Regions from separate parts of the Homo sapiens genome. Here region 2 is linked to region 1. The links are contacts of gene promoters, found by promoter capture Hi-C in human tissues and cell types (Jung and others, 2019). All regions are on one chromosome and are shown on one strand. The core of a region is centred on a gene start or on the middle of the fragment in contact, and the rest is flanking DNA. Distances in the headings are between cores, read along the strand shown.

What was found. The method cuts DNA at HindIII sites, captures the fragments that hold promoters and counts their contacts. A contact is called where the count stands out against the background at its distance.
Region 2: a fragment that was not itself captured here is called in contact with the fragment with the promoter of NIT2 in region 1 in 1 of the 25 tissues and cell types used here (hippocampus).

Annotation. Positions count from the first base shown.
Region 1 is chr3:100,332,489-100,336,006 of GRCh38, forward strand. NIT2 (nitrilase family member 2) reads left to right here and starts at 2,269. Exons shown (of 10, transcript NM_020202.5): 1 at 2,269-2,310. The coding sequence starts at 2,304. RefSeq lists enhancers at 2,037-2,605, 2,699-2,748, 2,769-2,828, 2,949-3,028 and silencers at 2,269-2,598, 2,997-3,291. The HindIII fragment of the contact is 4,697 bases long and covers 1-3,518 here.
Region 2 is chr3:101,379,514-101,383,005 of GRCh38, forward strand. All of the region lies in intron 6 of SENP7 (SUMO specific peptidase 7), which reads right to left. Among named protein-coding and RNA genes, the nearest start is that of IMPG2, 61 kb to the left of the region's middle. The HindIII fragment of the contact is 3,862 bases long and covers 1-3,492 here.

The DNA of each region.
Region 1 (3,518 bases), core at 1,019-3,518:
GTGCAGTGGCACAATCTCGGCTCACCGCAACATTCGCCTCCCAGGTTCAAGTGATTCTGCTGTCTCAGCCTCCTGAGTAGCTGGGATTACAGGTGTGTGCCACCACGCCCAGCTAATTTTTGCATTTTTAGTAGAGACGGGGTTTCACCATGCTGGTCAGGCTGGTCTCGAGCTCCTGACCTCTTGATCCACCTGCCTCCACCTCCTGAAGTGCTGGGATTATGTTAATTATTAAATCTAGGAGGAGGACACAGCTGTTCCTCCACCAGGCAGTGGCGCCCGGCCTGGTCCTTCTCCTCTAATGGCTCCTTCCCAGGCTCCACAGGCCCTTCTTCTTTTGCGTGTGCCTTTCATACTCCGCTTGTGTGTTCTCATCCAAATTCAGAGCTTCCTCTTAGTTAAAACTGCTGGTGACTCCCAAGTCAATTTCCAGCCCAGACATCTTCTGAGCTTGAGGCTTTGGTCCGGTTGCCTACTGGGCATCTCCACCTGGATGCCATGGCTCATGCCTATAAGGCCAGCACTTTTTGAAGCCAAAGTGGGAGGATCACTTGAGCCTAGGAGTTTGAGACCAGCCTGGGCAACACTGTAAGAATCCACTTCTAAAAAAATGAAATAATTTGCATTTTGAACAAGCACTTCAAATAACATTTCCAGCCAGGTTTAGGACCACTATTAGTTACAATGTTAGTCCAATAAATTTGGAAATCTAGATGAATTTTTTTAACAGGTTGTAAGTGACCACAGGTTGACCCTGAAACCTCATAGGTTAATAAGCATAGCAGAAATGAAAAGGTTTTTAAAGATCTTCCTGCTACAAAGCCAAGTCCAGATAGTCTCTTAAGCTGCAGAAAGACCATAACTGCTATGTATTTCCCCCCAATTTTTTTTTATGAAAGCTTAAAATTTTAAACTTCTACAAAGTTTTAATCTAGTACCATGAACAGCTGTGTCCTCCTCCTAGATTTAATAATTAACATTTTGCCATATTTGCTTTATCTTATGTGTTTTCTTTTTGCTGACGATTTTCAAGTCAAACATTCTGATGGTTCATCCCTAATACTTCCTCATTTTCTAAGAGTAAAGAATTGTCACAAGCACAACACTATAGCACACAAAATAATTCAGAAAAGCATCAAATATCTCGTTCATATTTAAATCTCCCTAGTTGCCCCCAAAATGTTTTTATAGTGTTCTTTTACAAACCAAGATCTGTTTCAGTATAAACTATTCTGGGGCATTCCAAAAGGTGGTTAAGTTTTGGATTTTTGTTCCACAAGTCTGACAAGGCACAAAAACACAAAACACGAAAATTAAAAAGCAATCTAATAAATAAAAATGCAAAAATCATAGTCTATAGGCTGGGCGCAGCAGCTCACGCCTATAATTCCAGCACTTTGGGAGGCTAAGGCAGTAGGGTCTTGAGCTCAGGAGTTTGAGACCAGCCTGGGCAAAATAGCAAGGCCCCACCTCTATTAAAAGTAAAAAACTTAAAAAAAAAAAAAAAAGAAAGAAAGAAAGAAAAAGAAAAAAGGAAAAGAAATAGCTAGGTGTGGTGGTGTGTGCCTGTAGTCCCAGCTACTTGGGAGGCTGAGGACGGAGGATCGCTTGAGCCGGGAGGTTGAGGCTGCAATGGGCTGAGACTGCTGCACTGCACTCCTGACTGGATGACAGAGTGAGACCCTGTCTAAAACAAACAAACAAAAAAGGATATTAGCAAAGAGATGACAATGTATTCGAGGACTGACTTGTTGAGGGCATGGCGTTGAACCCTCAGCATCTTTCCCGTTGGCCTAGCAGCCTTGTAGTCAGATTTTACAGACGTCTCGCGTGCCTAAACCAACCAGGGTCATTCCGTCCCCGTCACAGAGACTTGTTCAAATAGCTCAAGCCCATCAGCATACGGTGTTAACCTGGCCACAGAGGTGATTCAACCAGCTAGAAGTTCAGTCCTTTTGCGGAGAATCAGCAAACGCTACAAATCAGGGCTTTCCTCCCTGAAAAGTCTGGTTGTTAAGACATTCACCAGCACACCACCTCGACTTAGGCCGTTCCCTTTTGCCCTTTGCCTTTCGAGGCATGCTTTTTCCGGACTGTGTTGCAATTAACCATTTCTCGTTGGTCCGTCCTGGTGTTACAGGCGCACTGGAATGAACGCAGACCCTTCTCTCCTCCCGGCCGGGGCCAGGAGGAGGGGTGGGGCGGGGCCTCTGACGCGGTCCCCGCCCCACCGTAGCGACGCCGCGGTCCGCCGGATCTCCAGCGCTCAGTCCGCGCCGCAGGTGGTGCTTGTCTGCAGAGTCATGACCTGTAAGTGGCGCGGCCGCGCGCTGCAGCTCGAGTTCGGGCCGCGGGGGAGGCTTTGGAGCGGCGCCGGCGGTGGCTCGGCCGGCTCAGCCCCTCCGCCCCGCGTCCCCGCCGTGCGCGGCCTTCCCTGAGGCGGGCGTCCGCGTGGGTCCGGGATCGCGTGGCCGGGCGGCCGGGCGCACTCCCGGGATTCCAGGCTTCCGGGGTGGCGGGCGAGGCCCAGAAAGCACCAGGCCACCCGGCCGCGCCGGCACCCGCCGCGTCCTGCTTGACAGAGGCTGATGGACGTGTATTTCTCCACGGTGTGGGCCGCGGTGGTAGGATCCAACTCCCTTGGGTGTTTTCAAGTTGCGTGACCTCCTCCAGCCCCGCCCTGCACAAAGGTGCCCAGGCGGTTCTTCGTCTCCCCACTCACTTTCCAGCTCCAGATTTTGACTTGGATTCTTGCTGTGTCACTTACTTTGTTCAGTGACTTTGTGCAGCTTTCCCCCTGCAAGTCCCCTGTTTCTTTATTTGTAAAATGATGTTAATGATACCTCACACAATGATGTTAATGTGTGAAGGACCTGGCACATTGCTTTAAATGTTATTCCTTTGTTGTTTCCTTCGCTCACAGTATTTTATTCTTTTTTTCCGCCCCTTGGTAAGGTCTTCGTTGTTAGATTATGATGAATATTAGGGCAGCCTTAAAAGTCTTCACTTTACAGATGAGATGGAGTGACGGGCGTCTCCTCCTCAGCATGAGGAACTGCCCAGTGGCGGGGTTTCCCTGCTGCAGCATGTCTGTAGAGTGGGTCATTTGCAGAATGATAGGCAGTCCTAAGCTTAGTTGAGGACCCCGCCCTTGTGGGTGAGATGTGTAGGAGAGGAAGCCATCAGCGTAGCCATGGTGAGCTTTATCTTTCCCACCCTCGGAAGCACAGACATGGCCCGGCACGTGGCTCACGCCTGTAATCCCAACAGTTTGGGAAGCTGAGGCACGAGGATCGCTTGAGTTCACGAGTCAAGAGTTGGAGACCAGCCTGGGCAACATGGCGACACCTTGTCTGTACTAAAAAATACAAAATTAGCCCGGTGTGGTGGCACGCCCCTTTAGTCCCAAACTACTTGGGAAGCTGAGGAGGGAGAATGGCTTAACGCTGGGAAATGGAGGGGAGACGTTTAGTGGATTTATCTGCTGTTCTGATAACAGCTCAAAATATCTGTTTGCC
Region 2 (3,492 bases), core at 551-3,050, 1.0 Mb after region 1:
AGGCAAAGTACTTGAATAAACATTTCTCTAAAGAAGACATATAAATGGCCAACAACACGAAAAGATGTTCAATATCACTATTCATTAGGAAAATGAAAATCAAAATCACAATGAGATTCCACCTCACATGCATTAGGATGGTTATTATCAAAAAAACGAAAACAAGTATTGGCGAGATATGGAGTAACTGGAACCCTTGTGCACTGCTGGTGGCAATGTAACATGGTGCAGCCACTATGAATAATAGTATGATGTTTCCTCAAAAAGCTAAAAATAGATTGCCATATGATCCAGCACTTCTACTTCTGGATATATACCCAAAAGAACTTAAAGGAGAGATACAAACACACACTGAACACCCATGTTCATAATGGCATTACACACAATAGCCAAAATGTAGAAGCAACACCACTATCTATCAACAGATGAATAGAACAAAATTTAGTTGATACATAAAATGGAATATAGTCAGCCTTAAAAAGGAAGAACATTCTGACACATGCTGCAACATAGATGAACTTTTAAGACACTATGCTAAGCGAGATAAGTCAGTTAGCAAAGGACAAATACTGTGATTCCACTTATTTAAGGTACTTAGGGTCATGAAATAAATCATAGAAACTGAAAGTAGAATGGTGGCTGTCAGGGTTTAGGGGGAGAGAGGAATGAGGAGTTCCTGTTTCATAGATACAGAGTTTCAGTTTGGTAAAAATGAAAAAAGTTCTGAAAATGAATGGTGGTAATGGTTGTACAATAATGTGAATGTACTTAAAATAGATTAAAGTCCCTATTATTCAAAATGAGAACACAGATACTAATTAACTTTGGACTTTGATAGGTCTATCAAGTATATTATAATTTATAGAAAACTATTTAAAAATAGAAAGAGTCTAAATCTTCTAGAACGTAAAGCAAACCACCGCCCCCCCCCCCACACACACACACAAAACAAAACATAACTAATTTTTAAAATACAAGAATGGGTGGGGCACAGTGGTGCACACCTATAGTGTGCTACTTCGAAGGCTGACTTGAGGCCAGGAGTTCAAGGCTGTAGTGCACTATAATCATGCCTGTAAATAGCCACTGCACTCCAGCCTGGGCAACATAGCAAGACCTATCTCTAAAAAAAAAAAAAATACAAGAAAGGAAAAAAAGTCAAGCAGACCAAATAAAAAGCATAAAGAAAAATAGTAGTATAAAATATAAACAGACTATGCCTTATAGTTAAAAATAAATGTAGACTGAATGTAAAAAGAGAAGTATCCAGATACATACTATTTACTGGCAACACATATAAAATGAAAATGTCCAAAGGAGCATTGTTTATGAGAGAAAAAAAACTGGATACAATCCAAACTCCATCAATAAAAAGTAGGTAGATCTATTTTTAATATTAATACAATAAATACATAAGTAAAACTGGATGATCTCTAGCTCTATGCATCAACATGAATGAATCTCACAAAAATGTTAGGCAAAAAAAATGCATGCCATGTAATACATATTGTTCAGTAACCTGAATCATTTTTCTAAAGTTCACAATTATATAAAACTTAAAATTCAGAAAAGTGGTTAATTCTAAGGCGAATGCATGGGAATGGGACAGAATGGGCAAAGTGGGGAACACAGAAGGCTTCGGTGATGCTGATAATAGTCTATTTTTTAATAGAAGGTGAACATTTGGGTGTTTATTTTAACATTATGTTTTTTAACTTAAATGCATCTCATATATATTAGACCTGTGTTATAGTTCTACCTCTGCCACTTAATCTCTTTGAACCTCAAAAAGTTTCCACATTTATAAAATAGAAATATTAACTGCTCTCCTATCTATCTCATAGGCCTAAAGTAAAGATTAATATCAAAAGAGGATAGTGTGAAATGAATAAAAATAACACTATTTTTCATGATTATAATCATTTAATCCAGAAAAATATTTAGATGAAAGCATATCAAAATATTATCAATGCTTATTATTGAGGAATGGATTATGGGTAATATCAATTTCATACTTTTCTATATATCTCTTAATATAAATATGCATTATTGTTCAAATTAGGAAAAAGTTTAAATGTTTACATAAATTACATATAGATAATAATGAAATATTATTTTGAAAAGAGTGATAACCATATAATGCAAATGTTCAAGAGTTAACCGTGCAAATGAGTATCATTATTAGTAATTTTATTCAAAACTGACTAATGTTTCTAGCATAAAGGAGTTGAACTTAGGATATATGCACTATTTGTATCAGTGTTTTTCAAATTGCTAGTCAGAAGAAAATTTATGACATAAAACATAGAAGAGAAATTTTAAGTTAACAGGGGAAAATGATCTCAAAATAGAGTATCTTCTTTAGTGTTTATGTGGATTATTGTCATTACCAAATTACCAAAGGAAAGCTTAAAAAGAAAATCAACTGACATGAATATAGGAAACTATGACAGAGCTGGAATACATTAATAAAAATGAAACCTCCTCCACTTCCATTTAAAAGCTTTGGGCTCCCTCTGTTGGAAGTCTATATTAGAGTCTTGCAATTTAAAATAGCAATTTGATCCCTTTCACTCAAGGCTAATTACCAATCCCTGCTGAGTGGCTAGCTACAATAAAACCTTTATTACTTTTGTAAAACATAATTTTATGAAATATTTTTCTTCTTTTTTTTATTTTTAGGTACAGGGTCTCACTCTGTCACCCATGCTGGAGTGCAGTGGCTTGATCATCGCTCATTGTAACCTCTAACTCCTGGGCTCAAGCAACCTTCCAGCTTCAGCTTTCTTAGTAGATAGGACTACAGGCACACAGTACTGCACCTGACTAATTCTTTTTTTAAAAGTTTTTTGTAGAGACAGGGTCTTGCTATGCTTCCCAGGCTGATCTTGAACTCCTGACCTCAAGCCATCCTCCTATCTTGGCCTCCCAAAGCACTGAGATTACAGGTATGAGTCACCACACCCAAGCCTATTTTCTAATACAATTCGGTATATATTATTTGGAAATTAAATTAGACTTCTTTACATTAGCAGTTATAAAGTATTTCTAAAAATCCCAATGGGAAGTAAAATTTAAAAATACTAAAACATTCTGCTCAGTCTGACCTAAAAGGGAGTTCTTAATAAATATTTATAATGGAAGGGCAAAAAAAGAATCAGAACTTCAATTAGGAAAGTAATCTACAGACTTGTTCAGGAATTGATAGCTCATCTAAAGCAGTACAAATGAGAACAGTAGCTGGCTGACTTATCTCCATATTTGGGGTTAAAGAGGTCTTGCCAGGGATAAGCCAAAACACAGGAATTAAACACTAACATATTTTGCAAAATAAACTAAAAGTCTTCTATATCAAAGATACTATAAAGAAAGTGTAGTATAGCAAACTTGAAAAACAATTTACAATACATATTACAAAGAGTCAATACCTTTAATGAGAGTTTTTAAAATGAATAAGAGATGAGCACCCTAATAAGGACAAATACTAACAGA